Regions from separate parts of the Homo sapiens genome. Here regions 1 and 2 are each linked to region 3. Evidence: promoter capture Hi-C in human tissues and cell types (Jung and others, 2019). All regions are on one chromosome and are shown on one strand. Each heading gives the region's core, a stretch centred on a gene start or on the middle of the fragment in contact. The rest is flanking DNA. Distances are from core to core; before and after follow the strand shown.

Region 1 (2,948 bases), core at 53-2,552, 290 kb before region 3:
CAAATGGAACTCCAAATGAGTTCAACTAACAACTTCTACCAAGGACCCATGGACCAACCCACTGGCACTTCCACTGGCCTAGAGAGTTCCCCTCTGGAGGACACTACAACTGCAGGGCCCCTTCTTTGCCCCTATCCAGCAGGAAGTAGCTAGAGCGGTCATCGGCCAAATTCCCAACAGCAGTTGGGGTGTCCTGTTTAGAGGGGGGATTGAGAGGTGACAGCATGCTGGCAGCCCTCGCAGACCTCGCTCGCTCTCGGAGCCTCCTCTGCCTGGGCACCCACTCTGGTGGCACTTGAGGAGCCCTTCAACCCACTGCTGCACTGTGGGAGCCCCTTCCTGGGCTGGCCGAGGCCAGAGCCAGCTCCCTCAGCTTGCGGGGAGGTGTGGATGGAGAGGCACGGGTGGGAACCAGGGCTGTGCACAGTGCTTGCAGGCCAGCGCAAGTTCCGGGTGGGTGTGGGCTTGGGGGGCCCATGCTCGGAGCGGCCAGCCAGCCCTGCTGGCCCTGGGCAGTGAGGGGCTTAGCACCTGGGCCAGCAGCTGCTGTGCTCGATTTCTCACCAGGCCTTAGCTGCCTCCCTGCGGGGCAGGGTTCAGAACCTGCAGCCTGCCATACCTGAGCCTTCCCCCGCCCCGCCACCGTGGGCTCCTGCATGGCCCAAGCCTCCCAGACGAGTGCTGCCCCCTGCTCCACGGCCCCTGGTCCCATTGACCGCCCAAGGGCTGAGGAGTGCAGGCGCATGGCGCAGGACTGGCAGGCAGCTCCACCTGCGGCCCCGGTGCGGGATCCACTGGGTGAAGCCAGCTGGGCTCCTGAGTCTGGTAGGGACTTAGAGAACCTTTATGTCTAGCTAGGGGATTCTAAATACACCAATCAGCACTCTGTATCTAGCTCAAGGTTTGTAAACACACCAATCAGCACCCTGTGTCTAGCTCAGGGTTTGTGAAGGCACCAGTTGGCACTCTGTATCTAGTTAATCTGGTGGGGACTTGGAGAACCTTTATGTCTAGCTAAGGGATTGTGAATGCACCAATCGGCACTCTGTATCTAGCTCACAGTTTGTAAATGCACCAATCAGCACTCTGTGTCTAGCTCAGGGTTTGTAAACACACCAGTTGACACTCTGTATCTAGCTAATCTAGTGGAGACACCGAGAACTTTTGTGTCTAGCCCAGGGATTGTAAACGCGCCAATCAGCACCCTGTCAAAACGGACCAATCAGCTCTCTGTAAAACAAACCAATCAGCTCTCTGTAAAATGGACCAATCAGCAGGATGTGGGTAGGGCCAGATAAGAGAATAAAAGCAGGCTGCCTGAGCCAGCAGTGGCAACCCACTTGGGTCCCCTTCCACACTGTGGAAGCTTTGTTCTTTCGCTCTTTGCAATAAATATTGCTACTGCTCACTCTTTGGGTCCACACTGCCTTTAAGAGCTGTAACACTCACCACGAATGTCTGCAGCTTCACTCCTGAAGCCAGTGAGACCACGAACCCACTGGGAGGAACGAACAACTCCAGCGGGAGGAACGAACAACTCCAGATGCGCCATCTTAAGAGCTGTAACACCCACTGCGAAGGTCTGCACCTTCATTCCTGAGCCAGCGAGACCACGAACCCACCAGAAGGAAGAAACTCCGAACACATCCGAACATCAGAAGGAACAAACTCCGGACACACCGCCTTTAAGAACTGTAACACTCACCACGAGGGTCCGCGGCTTCATTCTTGAAGTCAGTGAGACCAAGAACCCACCAATTCTGGACACAACAGGATGTCTCCTGGAGGGCCCGGCAGCCTCACAGTGAAGATCCAGACTCCGCAGAATCCAGGTGCTGGGAGCGTCCGGGCAAGGCTGGGCCTGGCGGGCTCTCTGAAGGCAGCGGTCCAAGCCCACCCAGCCTCGGGCTCTGCACAGGGCCAGCCCCTCAGGGACTGCGGTTGACGACTCCGGGCTTGGTCCACTACGCCCACCTGGGTCCCGGGACATTGTCTATCTAGCCCGGAGGAGCTGGGAGGACAGAGGCGCCTCGGGAAACGCGCGCCTGCTCCCTTCGCGGGGCAAGGGCGACACCCAGTGGTGGCCGTGGGAACTCGGCTGCGTGGTATCCCCAGCCCGGGGCAGGCGCTGGGGCCCTCTGACCCCACTGCCCTCTTCCCTCTCCTCCCTCCTGCCCTGCTCCCAGCCCGCCCTGCAGACCCTGGCCCAGTTCCCAGGCTACCGTCAGCGCTGCTTGCCCCAGCTCCCTCCGCCCCACAAGGGGCAAACCCTGGCCAGGGCGGGGGCACCCCGGCTCTTTCCCAGGGTCCACCGTCCAGGGTGTCTTAGGTGGCCTTGAATACCAGGGACTGCCGCCCACCTTTAACTCCAGTCTCGCCCTGGGGTGCATGGCCCCGTTACCTGTGGGCCTTCACAATAAACGCAGCTCCTGCTAGCCCCTTCTCGCTGGGAAAATCCGCCTCCCCAGTGCATTGAGGGGACCTCGCGCTGTCACCTCGCAAAGGGCTCGCTCCACACCTAGAATCTGGAGCTCCCTTCACCTGCAGAGCCAGGACCACACCTGCCGCGGTGGTGAGCCTTGGAGGAGGCCACCATTCCCCAAACAGGACACTGAACAGTCCCTCTAGGCCAAGTTTATGACCGGCGTGTCCACTTCAAAGGCCACGGACATCTCCCAGACTTAACACTTTTCCATTATGCGTCCCTTTCACTTTCGGTAGCGAGGTCTCAGGAATGCCTTTCCAGGCTCCAGTCATATCGTTAAGATCGTTACGTACACTTTTCTCACTTTATGCTCACGCCAAACCTAAGAAGTTAGGTATTTCCGTCAGTGTTTTACAGATGAAGATACAGCGTCTTTCAAAGTTAAAAACGTTGTGAAGTTCCAACACACAGTAACAGAGCTAAGATTTGACCTCGGGAGGGACAGATGCCATAATCTCTTAAT
Region 2 (2,772 bases), core at 266-2,765, 310 kb before region 3:
GTTGCACATGCCTGTAGTCCCAGCTACTCTGGAGGCTGAGGCAAAACGATCACTTGAGCCTGGGAGATTGAGGATGCATGGAGCCATGGTAGCACCACTGTACTCCAGACTGGGTAACAAAGTGAGACCTTGTCTCAAAAAATATATATATATATACATATATACATGTATGTATATATGTATATATACACATGTATGTATATATGTATATATACACATGTATGTATGTATACACATGTATGTATGTATGTATACACATGTATGTATGTATACACATGTATGTATGTATATACACATGTATGTATATATACATGTATGTATATATATGTATGTATATACATGTATGTATGTATATATATGTATGTATATACATGTATGTATATACATGTATGTATGTGTGTATATACATGTATGTATGTATGTGTGTATATACATGTATGTATGTGTGTATATACATGTATGTATGTATGTGTGTATATACATGTATGTATGTGTGTATATACATGTATGTATATGTGTGCGTATACATGTATGTATATGTGTGCGTATACATGTATGTATGTGTGTGCGTATACATGTATGTATGTGTGTGCGTATACATGTATGTATGTGTGTGCGTATACATGTATGTATGTGTGTGCGTATACATGTATGTATATGTGTGCGTATACATGTATGTATATATGTGTGCGTATACATGTATGTATATATGTGTGCGTATACATGTATGTGTATATGTGTGCGTATACATGTATGTGTATGTGTGTGCGTATACATGTATGTGTATGTGTGTGCGTATACATGTATGTATATGTGTGCGTATACATGTATGTATATGTGTGCGTATACATGTATGTATGTGTGTATACATGTATGTATGTGTGTATATACATGTATGTATGTATGTGTATATATGTATGTATATATGTGTATATATGTATGTATATATGTGTATATATGTATGTATATATGTATGTATATATGTGTGTATATATGTATGTGTATATATATGTATGTGTATGTGTGTGTGTATATATATATATAGTTCAGAGTTGCTTATATTTGCATCAAGAAAATGCGGAAGGATGGCCAGGCATGGTGGCTCATGCCTGTAATCCCAGCACTTTGGGAGGCTGAAGTGGGTGGATCGCCTGAAGTCAGGAGTTTGAGACCAGCCTGGCCAACAAGGTGAAACTCCGTCTCTACAAAAAATACAAAAATTAGCCACATGTGGTGGCAGGCGCCTGTAATCCCAGCTACTTGGGAGGCTGAGGCAGGAGAATTGCTTGAACCCAGGAGGCGGAGCTTGCAGTGAGCCGAGATCACGCCACTGCACTCCAGCCTGGGCGACAGAGCGAGACTCAGTATCAAAAAAAAAAGGAAAGAAAAGTGTGGTTGTTGGGAACCAGGAGATGGGGACAGTTTACAAAGAATGTCATCTCAAGTTATACATTTAAAAACTAAAAAAAAAGTACCACAAGCAACTTCATGAAGAGTTTGAAGAGCAAAAGACGAAAACTCACCCTTAATCCTACGGTCATAAAAGCATGATACGGTGTGTTCATTTTGACATATTCTGTTCCTGTTTTTATCCAGATATTCGTATTTTATATATAGGTACAGACATGGAGCACATAAAACTGTCTCCTAATTGTTTCACTGACCATCCGAAGTATTTCCTATGTTGTTATGTTGGATTCATTTTGGCTGGCTGAATAAAATTCCACCAACTTTTTTTTTTTTTTTTTTTCGAGTCAGGTCTCCCTCTGTTGCCTAGGCTGGAACGCAGTGGCACAATCATAGCTCACTGCAGCCTCGAACTCCTGGCCTCAAGCAATCCTTTGCCTCAGCCTCCTGAGTAGCTAGGACTATAGGCGTGAGCCACTTGCCGGGTGAACTTTCTCATTTCAAAAGGCCAATGGTGCCTTTAAGACTCCTCCCCTACGCAAGGGATTACGCATGCACCTGGAGGTGGGACTATGGGCCTCTCTTTCCACCCTGAGCTCAGAGTGAGGGGCGAGACCCAGATGGATGAGTCTGAAGCTTATCACTTAGCACAGTTATGGCTGCAACTGGGATTGATGGGAGAACAGAACAGACCCTCTTCTCTCAGTGCACAGGCAGAAATAGAGGCAGCTGTCCCACCCTTCCCCAAGGGCAACTGGGATTTGTTCATTCACCTAGCACTGCCTGAGTCCCCACAGAATGGTATAATTTCCCCCCACGGCTAAGTGTTCTCCAGTATTTGTTTACTTTTTAGTTTGAAATAAATATAGATTGCAAGTTACAAAAATAGTATAGCGAGGTTCCATGTAACCTTCACCCCCTCTATGCCCAGTGGTTACTTCTTACACAAGTACAGTACAACAGCATCCCAGGAAATTGACATTGATACAATGTGTGTATAGTGCTGTGCTATTTCTTCAGTGTGCAGCTTCCTGTACCCACCACCCATCAAGATAACTATTCCAGCCCACAAAGATCTCCCGCGTGCTACCCTACCCACCCCCACCATCCCTAACTAGCAATTCGTAATCTCTTCTCCCCCCTTTAATTTTCTCATTTCAAGAATGTTATATAAATGGAATCATACAATAGGTGACGTTTTGAGATTGGCTTTTTGGGGACTATTACAAATGAAACTATTATGAACATTTATGTATAGGTTTTTATGTGGATGTAAGCTTCCATTTCTCTGAGATAAATACCCAGGAATGGCATTGTTGAGTCATACGGGAAGTGTCTGCTTAATTTTTTAAGAAACTGCCAAAC
Region 3 (2,854 bases), core at 343-2,842:
CACAAAGGAGATTTTGCAGAGAATCTTTACAATCATACTTTGGGCTTCCTTTCTCCAGTCTCCTCTGTTCTTCGGATAATCTTATTACCTTTTTGGTCATTCTAAGCACTACATGGATTAGTTCAGTATATAGATTATGGCCGTATAAACCTCATTCTCGCTCTTGGCAGATAACCTAACTCTGGTTTTACTGAAAAGATTAAAGCTAATTTGGAAGAATTGAACTCGCCCATTCCTCTCAGTTTTGTGTTGATGTATCTTCATCTCTGTGGCTGCCTCCCAGTTGCAGGCAGAGGCAGCCATCTTTCTTCCTCCTCCAGAGCTAACCCTTTCCCTCGTGCCCTTGATGCCCCCTCCACCTCTTCCTATTACCACTACTTGGCACCAGCCACATATTAGGGCTCCCTTGCAACCACTTTCAAACAAGGCCAGGCTTTATTCCATTTCAAAAAGCACACAAGAAAACCAAAATGCTTTTGCCTGACCTTGCTGTCTCTTCTAGTCTATTTATTGCTTTCCTTTTGCAGCAAGACATCTCAATTTCCTCTTTCCTCATAGCCCCTTAGTTTTGCAGTCTAGCTTCCTTTCTCTGTCACTCTATTGAAATTGTGTCCTCAAATGTCACAGTGGTTCCCTTGTAACTTAATCTGAAGAGGGTGGTGTTTTAGCCTCATTCTTCTTATTTTCTCAGCAGCATCGATTTTCTTTCTGCCTTTTTCTTTCATCTTCCACTCTGACATAGTTCTCTGGTTTATATTTTTCTGTTTATCTCCTGGGTTTTCTAGACCAGTCCAGTGCATAGCATCATGGCTGAGTCCAAGCTCTTACATTAGCCTGCCTGTAGCTGAATTTTAACTGCCACAAATTAACTGCATGACCTTTGTCAAGGTAATCTCCCTGTGCCTCAGTTTCTCCAGCCTTAAAATGGAGACTATAGTAGGAGTATTAACCTTTGGTTTGATGTAACAATTGAATGAGATAGTCTATGTAATATTTATCACAACATTTGGCACACAGAAGTTTTAATTGAATGTTATCTATTAGCATAACAATAAGTGCCTCTGTCTTTGAAAATATAACTGTTCTTTTTTCCTTTCAGGACATATTTTCTCCCTTTATGACCCAATGCAGAGCGAGACGATAACTAATTATTGTTAAATAGATTTATGCACGTGTTTGGAGAGTCAGGGAAGGAGGGCTGATGAGAGAGAGAGGCTCCTAAATTCTGCAGGTGCTGTAATTCCCCGGTTTTAATTTTGCTTTGCTTTTTACCAATAAATCATTTTGAGAGCTTAAATCGCTCCTTTCGGGACATACGGTGTTTCTTGAGCAGGAAGGGACGTCAACGGTTAAAGCTCTTGTTGTTGGTGCAACAATCAGCCACGATGAGGCTGCTTGGCATGGAACACAGTGTCCCATCCTTAGATTAAATGCGCTCTAACAGGATTATGTAAGGAAGGAGGCAGCCACGGCGGCGGCTTTGTGCAGGGGTCGCCTGGAACCCGTCCATTGAGTCATGCCGCCATCTCGCGGCCGCATGGGGAACGGGCCTTGGCAGGGAGGTTTTGTTTGGTGCAGAGGAAAGGTCCCCAGAATTGCCATCTGCAGAATTTCTGCAGAAAGTGTCGACCAGGCTGGCATGAGGGAAGAAGGAGGGGAAATCACAGCAAGGAGAAGGAAAAACACCTCAGCATGGCGTGGGGAAGCAAAGGTAGCAAGTCATGCTTGTGCCACCCTACAATATTCTTGTCGGTTTCATTCCAGAACAATTCCCTCCCCTGCCCAAATACTCTATAAACTTTGACTTTCCCCTCTTATTTGATTCTCACTTTCCAACACTCTGTGCCGACCCGTTATCCTGGACAGACCCTGCGTCACCTCCTAATTTCCCTTCTTGTATGTTAGGAATTCAGGGCTGGGAAAATTTAGCCGAGTCATCACATTTGGCTACTACCCGGGAAAGCAGCCCTCCCGAGTCAGGAACGGGCTCCGGTTCATCACGTGGCAGCCGCCTGCAGGAGCCGCAGGTAAGGGACACTGTTGGCCGGGGCAGCCAGATGCAGCGGGAGGCGTCCTGGCTGCACTTGGGTTCCCAAAACCTTTCTGGAATGTCACTCTGGTCACCAGTATGGGAGCTCGACCTCTAGGGGGTAGGATTTGGTAATGTTCTCTTTGTAAAACTGAAGTGGGCAATGTTGACCAGGAAGCTGATTTTGTTTGCTTTTCACAAACTATGTTAATCGATCAATAGTTGGGTTATAGATCATTCTATTGTCAGCAATATAATAGAATGGCAGGGACTCAGGGAAGATATTGACACTTTAAACTGAAATGTCTATGCGGTCTGTCTTCCCTCGTTCAGCTCACAGGACATTGCCTGGGAGCTGAACCTAGGCTTATAGCACAGTGACTGAAAGGATATCTTTCAGAGTCCTAAAATCTGCTCTGCCAGTATTTGACTTTGAGTTAATTGTTCAACATTACTTTAAGCCCAGTTTCTTCTTTTCTAAAATGAAGACGATTTTTTTAATATTAATTTTTTTTTTCATTTTTTTGAGACAGGGTCTTGTTGTGTTGCCCAAGCTGGGGTGCGGTGGCCCGATCTCGGCTCACTGCAACCTCTGTCTCCTGGGTTCAAGTGATTCTTCTGCCTCAGCCTCCTGAGTAGCTGGGACTACAGGTGTGCACCACCATGTCTGGCTAATTTTTGTATTTTTAGTAGAGGCGGGGTTTCACCATGTTGCTCAGGCTGGTCTTGATCTCCTGACCTCAAGCAATCTGCCTGCCTCAGCCTCCCAAAATGCTGGGATTTATAGGCATGAGCCACCACACGCAGCCTACTATTGTCATTTAT

Evidence for each region. Contacts are between HindIII fragments. The study calls those that stand out against the background at their distance.
Region 1: a fragment that was not itself captured here is called in contact with the fragment with the promoter of MRO in region 3 in 3 of the 25 tissues and cell types used here (lymphoblastoid cells, mesendoderm cells and small bowel).
Region 2: a contact is called between a fragment that was not itself captured here and the fragment with the promoter of MRO in region 3, in 2 of the 25 tissues and cell types used here (H1 embryonic stem cells and spleen).

What each region holds. Positions count from the first base shown.
Region 1 is chr18:51,109,632-51,112,579 of GRCh38, reverse strand. No RefSeq gene overlaps it. Among named protein-coding and RNA genes, the nearest start is that of SMAD4, 81 kb to the right of the region's middle. RefSeq lists a silencer at 2,054-2,163 and enhancers at 1,906-2,405, 2,406-2,907. The HindIII fragment of the contact is 7,166 bases long and covers 1-2,948 here.
Region 2 is chr18:51,128,767-51,131,538 of GRCh38, reverse strand. No RefSeq gene overlaps it. Among named protein-coding and RNA genes, the nearest start is that of MEX3C, 68 kb to the left of the region's middle. The HindIII fragment of the contact is 5,752 bases long and covers 1-2,772 here.
Region 3 is chr18:50,818,754-50,821,607 of GRCh38, reverse strand. MRO (maestro) reads left to right here and starts at 1,592. Exons shown (of 8, transcript NM_031939.6): 1 at 1,592-1,711; 2 at 1,906-2,027. RefSeq lists enhancers at 1,388-1,437, 1,274-1,907. The HindIII fragment of the contact is 21,582 bases long and covers 1-2,854 here.